2 separate regions of the Homo sapiens genome follow, and region 2 is linked to region 1. Evidence: promoter capture Hi-C in human tissues and cell types (Jung and others, 2019). All regions are on one chromosome and are shown on one strand. The core of a region is centred on a gene start or on the middle of the fragment in contact, and the rest is flanking DNA. Distances in the headings are between cores, read along the strand shown.

Region 1 (4,790 bases), core at 1,100-3,599:
CCACTGTCTTCAGCTGTTTTCTGTAGTGATTGTTTCTAGGTATTTTACCTATTTTACCAACCTTTTTCACTTTTTGCACTGAATAGTGCTAAGGGAAAAAAAGGATGGGGAAAGGAGGAGTGGCAGTATCTATAGCTAGAGGGTCATCCTATTTGTGGAAAACTTTATTGTCTACTTTAGTGGGTCCTGAATATTAGTCCAGTCCTTACTGCCCAGCACTTAAGGAAGAAAGGTCTAATGTGACTGTATGGGGGTTGAAGTAGGTACCAAAGGAAAAGCAGTTCCCACCACCTCCAAGGAGCAGGAGCTGTTGCTCTTCAGGAAGAAGGATACTAGTATGGTTGTGTAACATTAATGGCCATGGCACATATGTTGTGTCAATCTGATACTCAGAGCTCAATCCTGTAGTCAAATTGATCACAGTCACTCCAGGAAATGAGGAGGAATGAATCCAGATCCCTCCAACCAGTAACAGCTTTCCATTGAGCACATGAGCTGTGTGGGAGTACCTTGGGGTAATGGGAGGCTGGATGTCTACTGACTCCCAGAGGAATCCACAAGAGATTGGTCTCAGAAAGAGCACAGAGTTCAATGGCTCCTCAGAAGCCCCGAGACCTCCAGCAATAAGGGCTCCCCCTTGCCAAGTGCAGGCACTGTGAGAATGCCGGGCTTCAGGTACTTCTCCCTCCACTGGGATCCTGACCCAAGCCATTGTCCCTACATGGAGGAAATGCCAGTCACTTAGTACAGGTTCCACCACGCTTCGACCCCCATACACAAACAAATATTCCTGATTCTGACAGGACACTTCTGTTGTTGAATGCCGCCAACAACACAAAGTGGAATCATCCTTTCGGCCAGCCTTTGTTATTGTCACTTTCAGGTCCTCAGTGTTATTATCCTCACTCTTAAAAAAATGAAGCTGGAGAACCCCCAAGGCTGGACTTACTGGGGACAGTCTCCCTCCCAGAACCAGAACCCGACTCTCTGAGAGTCTTGTCATGGTGTGATAAAGGCGTCCATCCCACTGAACTCCAGTCCCACAACTGCCTATTTGGCTGCCTTTCCATTCAGAGTCACAATCTCTTGAGAGCAAGTGAAACTGGCTCACTCGGCAGTGCCGCCCCTCCTGCTCTCCAAATCCTCCTGCACTGAGAATAACGTCTGGGCTCAAGAAGACAGAGGCGTGGCCATATCTCTTCAGGTTTGGGACCTGGCCCTCGCTACTGACTACGCTGGCAGGGAATACCCCTGAAGGCGAAGCAGGATTTACGCGAGGAAATGCCTCTGAGGATGGAAACACTAGGGTGTGGGAGAGGGTGTCTCCCCTAGAAGCTGCCAGAATGAAATAATGGGCGCACTTCAGATGCCACTCCTCAAATTCGTCAAAGGGTTCAATATTTTCCACCCGCCGGCGTTCTTCTGCGGGAAGAAAGCAGTGATAGAATTCATTCATGTCCACGGCACCGCAGGCGGTCCAGCCAGCTTGAAGGAAGCGGCGCCGCTGCGCCTCCACGTCAGGAAAACGCTCCAGGCCATGCAGGGGGGAGTTTAGCTGCCGAAAATGTTGCAGCATGAACTGGCCAAAGGCGTCTTGAGGCCTCATCTGCTCATAGACCACGAAAAGGGCATTAGGAAAACGCTGGGCTGCCCAGGCGATGAGGGCCGCGGCACTCTCCGGCTCGAGGTAGGTCAGCACCGCCTCGGCCAGGAGCAGAGTGGGTGAGGCTGCGTCGAGCCCCGCGGCGCCCAGGGCCTCCTCCACTCGCTGGAGCTGCCGCAAGTCCAGACCCAGGATGCAGTAGTCTGCGCTCTCAAAGCACAGCGCGGACGCGGGCTCCCCCCTCTCGAAAGGCCCGGTTAACGCGCACAGCTCTGGCGTCTCTCCAATCCTTTCTGCTTTGCGCCGCGCCACGTCCGGAAAATCCACCTCCCAGACTGCAGCCCGGGCCAGGCGGCCCGCGGTTTTTAAGCGAAAATAGAGCGAGTCGAAGCCAGCGCCGAGAGACAAGATCTGCGCGCGAAGCGCGGCCTGGGGCGCGCCAATCTGCTCCAAAAAAGCGCGCACGCAGTGCCTCACGGCGCGTGCGCGGACGTAGTAGCCTCGGTGAATGAGCGGTGCGCGGCGCGCCGCGCCCGGAACCAGCAACGCGGCAAAGGGGTCCTGCACGTACCCGCGCGCGGCCAGGGAACGCTTGCTGAGGGCGCTGCTGTCGTTGGTGTTCTGTACCGCGCCTGCCCGACGCTCACGGCTCCGGGGGCCCATGGCCAGAAGAGACTCAGGAATGGCAGTCTGTCACGGTTGTGAGCCGCCCCTTGGTTAGCACACACCTCACGGACCTCGGTAGGGGGAAAAAAACCACCCATGCTCCTGGACTTCCCCTTCCGCCGGCACTTGTGCGTCACTTCCGGGAAGAGCGCATCTCGCCAACCAGAATTGAGGAGGGTGTAGCCAGTGCTAAGTTCGCTTGCGGCTGACCTTTCTTTGGAATGTCGTGAGTTCCATTTGTCCCAGAATACGGTCCGCTACCGCTGTGACATGAGTGTTAGGGAAGGCGGGTTGTCACGTTTCTACAAGCCTTCCAGTCAAAAGGGAAACCTTGCCTAAGTCCTTGTAGTTGAGAAATCTCTAAGAGGTGAGTCTGTGGGGACTGACGACTTGGCTTCCTTGGACCGCCAAGGAAGGGTCTGGTAGGAGCCAAGAAGGGTCGGCACCACGGACCTTCAGTAGGCAAGGATTAGTTAGCTTCCTTGGGTGCTAATAGTTGCTGATTTATTTAATGCTCTCACAGTTGCAAAAGAGAACCCCATTTAAAACTTGAAAACAAGTCACTAAGGCCAGGGTGCAAACTGAAGAAACCGACCTTTACAAATAATTTATAGACACCTAACAAGAAGACGTTTCCCCACAGATAGTAGACTGTTGATTCCCTTGTATTCCCAGCCCTATGTTAGACTGACGGTGAATAAACCACTCAGCCTCTCTTTCTCATCACACCGCCTTGGAGAATTCTGTGGATTTTAAAGTAGTGTTGAATATGTCCCCAGAAAGGGGAGTCACTGAAGAGAGGTGATTGTTCCCTGTGATATGTTCTGAGCTTTGTTTTTAAGGAGTAAATCCAGGTTAGACTTCAGAATAATCATAAAGTTTCTAAATTGGGTGTCTGGGAGTCATCCATAGGAAACCACTTCCAGAGACATTTAGGAAATTTATCATTTGTTCACTGGGATTTGGTGACTGACTGGCTGAAATAGAAAAGGAAATCAGATAACTTTATGGTTAACTACAGGTGGTACTGCATAATGGTTAAGAGTGTGAGTTTTGGAGTCCAGCAGATTTGGATACTGGAGTCAAGAAAAAGTTTCGTATTTTCCAATGTTTTCTTGTGGAACAAAATGAAATAAGAAAGAAAAGGTTTGGATCAGGATAAAGATTCGGTAATTGAAAAGTGACATTTAGATTTGGTGTTTAAAAGCTCATTAATGGCCTTAGGGAGAGCAGTTTCTGTGGAGCAATAAGGGCAGAATCCATGTTTCAGTGAATAGGAGGTGAGTTAAAGGAGGTATCCAGTCTAAATTATTATACTTTCGAGGAGCTTAACTCAGAAGGAAAAAAGGGTCAGGGCAGTGGCTAAAGAATATTGTGGGATAAAAGAGTCTTTTGTTTTGTTTTCAGGTGGAAGCAAATACTGCACATGCGTGTTGGTCCTGTGAGGGAAACCAGCTAGTGGAGAGGGAGAGGTTGAAGGAACAGAAAAATGAGAAGACAACTCACTGGTAGAGTAACTTGGAATAGATAGAAATGGGATCCTGGGCACGTATTAGTTGTGGGGATAGGAGAATGAATCCTTTATCTGTGACTCCTGATGGGGTAAAAAAAAGATTATGGATAATCATAAGCTCAGGTGTGAGGTAGGGCAGAGAGAAAAAGAAGGAATTTGCACCTGATGGCTTCTGTTTTCTCTGTAAAGTTGGTGACAGAGTTGTCAGTTTAGTGTAAGGCATTCAGATCTGATGGAACATTTGAGCAGTTTGAGAATTGCTTCTGAAGGGATTAGAAGAAGGGCTCACCTATGCCTGCTGGGTCAGTGGATCCTCACCTCTAAAATGAGATTAAGTACTGCTTCGTGAGGTATCTCAGGGTTGATTGAGGGGCAAATAGAAAAAAAAAAAAAGTTGAAGGACTTTGAAAAATACGTAGCACCATAGAAACAAATTTATTTAATGACAGGTTCCTAAAATGTAGGTGTTATGTCAAAAATACTACTTGTTTTGCAAAGACCAGATCAAGAAAAGTAATTAAAGAAGAAAGAGAATGGAGTAAAATTTCTGATTTCGATGCCTTATGATTTAGGCCGGGGGAGGAGGGGCCATTGTTTAAATCTCAGTTTATTCTTATATAAAATGGGGATAATAATATCTCAGGGGTTGTTGTGAGGATTTAAACAAAATAACTATCTAAGACACCACAGTGCCTGGCTCATGGTAAGTGCATAATAAACAGTAACAAATTTTTTTTTATTCTGAGTTCCCTTTTGGGGGAGTAGGTGGGAGCATGAAAAAAGTTCCCTGGGAGACAGGATACTTGCTTCTGGCCCTGCTCTAATATTGATGAAGTATTACTAACGTGGATCTTATCCCAGTGTTTGTTGCCTTCCGTCCCAGAGCAAAACCAGTCCAGAAAAGTTAAATTTGTCATGGCATGCTGTTGTTGGTATCCATGTTTTAGGCAAGGAACAACAATTTTTTTTAATGTGTAAAGATTATGATTGCTTAGTTGCTTTTTAATT
Region 2 (4,289 bases), core at 1,661-4,160, 490 kb before region 1:
CAAGATATCGAGACCATCCTGGCCAACATGGTAAAACCCCGTCTCTACTAAAAATACAAAAATTAGCTGGGCGTGTTGGCAGCGCGTGCCTGTAGTCCAGGCTACTCGGGAGGCTGAGGCAGGAGAATCACTTAAACCCGGGAGGTGGAGGTTGCAGTGAGCCGAGATCACGCCATTGCACTGCAGCCTGGGCGACAGAGAGAGACTCTGTCTCAAAAAAACAAAACAAAACAAAACAAAACAAAATTAGCTGGGCATGGTAGCAGACACTTGTAGTCCCAGCTACTCAGGAAGGTGTGGTAAGAGGATCACTTGACCCCAGGAGGTAGAGGCGGAAGCGAGCTGTGATCACTCCACTGTGCTCCAACCAGAGCAAGACCCCATCTCAAAAAAAAAAAAAGGGGGGGGGTGTATAAAAGGAAAGAGATAAAAATGTAAGTAGAAGTTATTAGCAATTATATCATTGTAAATTTGAATTAGAAACATCGATATGAACCATGGCATAATTTCTCATTTTTTAAAATGTATTTCTTAAATCCATCCACTTGAAAAGAATTAAAAATAATGACCAACTCACTTTCAACAGACACCCACATCATCTAGAATTTGGTCTCTAAACATCATTTCCCATTAAAAGGAGCCAAGGCTTAACGGAGAAATGGCTGATTCCAGATCTGGAGTATGAAATATACAGAATGAGTCTGGTACTCAGTGTGGCACCAAAAAATAAGGATGCTATCAAAGACTGCTGCAGCCTAGTCCTAACAAAATGAATCCAGATCCAACATGAAAGAAGCCCCTGTAGCAAAAGATGAGACAATTTGAATATTAAAAAAACCGTAGGCCAGGTACCTGTAATCCTAGCACTTTGGGGGTTTGAGATTAGCCTGGCCAACATGGGGAAACCCCATCTCTACTAAAAATAAAAAAATTCGCTGGGTATGGTGGCATGAGCCTGTAATCCTAGCTACTTGGGAGGTTGAGGCAGGAGAATCGCTAGAACCCAGGAGGTAGAGGTTGCAGGGAGCCAAGATCGTGCCACTGCACTCCAGACTGGGCAACAGAGTGAGATTCCGTCTCAAAAAAATAAAACTGCAATAATTGAAAGACATCAAACATGTTAAATCCATGAATTTATGGATTTATTATATAGTTATATATTTATTATGTGTTTATATTAGGGAACCAATTCATTATTCTAAAAACTGATAAATAAAATAATCAAGTAGTAGTCCTGCCTTTCCTATATAAAATATACTTGAGGATAACCTAATAGTGAATGTAGTGGTTTTGAAGAAGAATTCTAGTAAACAAAAGAAGAATAAAATGATAGAACACTGTATTTGCAACCCCCATTAAAATAATGGATGATGATTACAAATGGGTTGATAAAACCATTAGGAGAAAAACCACTGGTAACTTTAAAATGGATGGATCAGACTGACAATGCTGAACTCACTGACCAATCTTAACCTCACTGAAAGACAGACAACCAGATACTGCCTCCTGATGTGATTCAAGAGGAAGCATACAACCCACCTCTGAAGTATCCTTGCAAAGTAAAACTGGAATCTTATATAATCATCAATTTATAGAAAATACAGGGGACAGAAATACATATTAAAGACAACCACAGGGAAACAACCAGCAAAATCCAGAATATGGTAATGTGTGCATGTCAAATTCCTCCATTTTTATCAACAACAATAAACACAATGAAAAGAAAATTGCAAGAAAATAAAAGACAGAGGGTGAACCAATTGATTAAAAGAGGCTTAAGAGATAAGCAATGTGTGAACCCTATTTGGAACTCAATTCAAATAAACCAAATGTAAAAAAAAAAATATTTATTAAAGAGATGGACGATCATTGAAACTGAAGATTGGTTTGATATTTGTGTTATTATTAAGGAATTATTATTAGGTATTGTGGTTACTTTAAGAAAAAAAAGAGTTCTTGTCTTCTAGAAATGTATATATAGATAAAATATGCCTTGGATTAGCTATTAATTTCGGGAGGGACAGGAGAAAGAGAAAATACTTGAAACAAGATTAGCCATATACTGATAGTTGTTGAAGTTGGGTAATGAGTAGATGGGTGTAAATTATACTATTCTCTCTACTTTGTGTATGTTTAATTTTTCCCATAATAAAAAGCTTTTAAAAGGTAGTAGGTGTTAGGCAATCTAGACCTACAGTTGTACTGGTTACAGCACTTGAAAAAATGTTTTGCACCTCTGTAGTTGATGTACTTATCACAATATATCACACTTTGGTTATACTAAAGATGCTCATATAAAGCTTCAGTGGTGACAAAATACTAGGTGAGACCTGGCTAAGGTCTTGTAAGGGGAATTCAGAAAAAAAAAATGTGTACAACTGCTTGAGCTCTGTAAGATTTTAAAAAACATTTTAATGGCAAATAGAATTTCTACAACAGAGATAAGGTTGTTCCTTAAAAATTTTTAAGGCAGATATTATGTAATTGAATCAGCAGGAGGAAAAGAACAAGTTTATCTTAAGAATAATGAATTTATGGTTTTTAGAATAAATTAGGACTCTCTGTGGGAAGCTGAATACATGGAGGAGACCCAGTAGTTATCTTCCATATGTCAAATAAGAGAAAATATGCTCTAGCGGTTATACCAGCTTTAGCCTAATCCCAAATCAAGTCAGCCACAAACTGTACAGATGGGAGTTTAAATGGGTTAACTTTCTTGTGACAGGAAAAAAATATAGCATGCAATTCAAATGGAAAAGTTCTTAGACAAATCCATAGGAACTTGCCAAAGGCCACAAAGGTCATCATTGCCTAATATACACCAGTCTCTTAGGTTTCCCAGTACCAGGAGCCTTCCCATTTACAGAAAGTCAGATTTAGGTAAGTACAAGAATGAAAATGAATATATGCTAAGACTCAGAAAGACTCTGCAGACTAAAGAAAAAAAGCTGCTTTATATAATTCTCCAGTCAATAGTAACCTGAGACAAAACAGTTTTCTCTTATTACTGCCTAAAGAATACTGGGTTCAGGCTTCCACCAAGCTTTAATACCCATCAAGTAGGCTAGTACCAGACAAATCACAAACCTCCTTGAGACTCAGCTTCTCCATGTACAAAAGAGGGATAAAACTTGTTCTCTCCTCCCCATGGGGGTATAATGAGGATCAAATAAGATGATAAATCCAGATGAAAACTATAAAATGTCACACAAAAAGTTATATTATTACTAGCCAAAATGAGAGAAAGCAGGATCCAAATTAATGATCTAAAAAGGTTCAGAGGCTGGGCGCGGTGGCTTACGTCTAGAATCCCAGGGCTTTGGGAGACCGAGGTGGGCAGATCACCTTAGGTCAGGGGTTCAAGACCAGCCTGGCCAACATGGTGAAACCGTCCCTACTAAAAATACAAAAATTAGACAGGTGTGGCGGCGCGCACCTGCAGTCCCAGCTACACCGGAGGCTGAGGCAGGAGAATCACTTGAACCTGGGAGGCGAAGGTTGCAGTGAGCTGAGATCACGCCACTGCACTCCAGCCTGGGTGACAAAGCGAGACTCCATCTCAAAAAAAAAAAAAAAAAAGGCCAGGCATGGTGGCTTACGCCTGTAATCCCAGCACTTTGGGAGGCCGAGGTAGGTGGATCACTTGAGGTCAGGAGTTCGAGACCAGCCTGGGCAAAATGGTGAAACCCAGTCTCTAATTAAAAACATAAAAATTAGCCAAGTGTGGTGGCGTGTGCCTGTAATCCCAACTACTTGAGAGACTGAGGCACAATAATCACTTGAACCCAGGAGGTGGAAGTTGCAGTGAGCCGAGATTGTGCCACTGCACTCCTGCCCGGTGACAGAGTGAGACTCTGTCTCAAAAAAAAAAAAAAAAAAAAAAAAGGTTCAGGGATAGCTGCTTAAGGAAATAAAACTAGGCTGGCTCAAGAGTTAGTGAATCACATGACTCAGAAAGACCTTAAGATTATAGTCTACAGACGTTAGTATCTTTAAATCTAAATGAAATCTGAAGGATGGCTGAGGGAAACAAGAAAAGCCTCCTGATGAGAAAAGGAAGCATTTAGGCCAGGATCTATGTCTCTAGAATCACTGTTATTTAGATAACTTGAAAGAAAATAAAGAAACCTGCTGGGCGCGGTGGCTCACACCTGTAATCCCAGCACTTTGGGAGGCTGAGGCAGGCGGATCGCCTGAGGTTAGGAGTTTAATGCCAGCCTGGCCAGCATGGTGAAACCCTGTCTCTACTAAAAATACAAAAAGTAGCGAGGCGTGGTGGCGACTACCTG

What was found. Contacts are between HindIII fragments. The study calls those that stand out against the background at their distance.
Region 2: a fragment that was not itself captured here is called in contact with the fragment with the promoter of LCMT2 in region 1 in 2 of the 25 tissues and cell types used here (heart left ventricle and lymphoblastoid cells).

Annotation. Positions count from the first base shown.
Region 1 is chr15:43,328,224-43,333,013 of GRCh38, forward strand. It overlaps LCMT2 (leucine carboxyl methyltransferase 2), which reads right to left and starts at 2,350. Exons shown (of 1, transcript NM_014793.5): 1 at 1-2,350. The coding sequence starts at 2,266. The coding sequence ends at 206. It overlaps MAPDA (N6-Methyl-AMP deaminase), which reads left to right and starts at 2,449. Exons shown (of 13, transcript NM_001324366.2): 1 at 2,449-2,636; 2 at 3,677-3,777. RefSeq lists enhancers at 2,258-3,208, 2,441-2,490. The HindIII fragment of the contact is 18,030 bases long and covers 1-4,790 here.
Region 2 is chr15:42,833,797-42,838,085 of GRCh38, forward strand. The region is part of intron 4 of TTBK2 (tau tubulin kinase 2); the gene reads right to left. Among named protein-coding and RNA genes, the nearest start is that of TTBK2, 85 kb to the right of the region's middle. The HindIII fragment of the contact is 5,937 bases long and covers 1-4,289 here.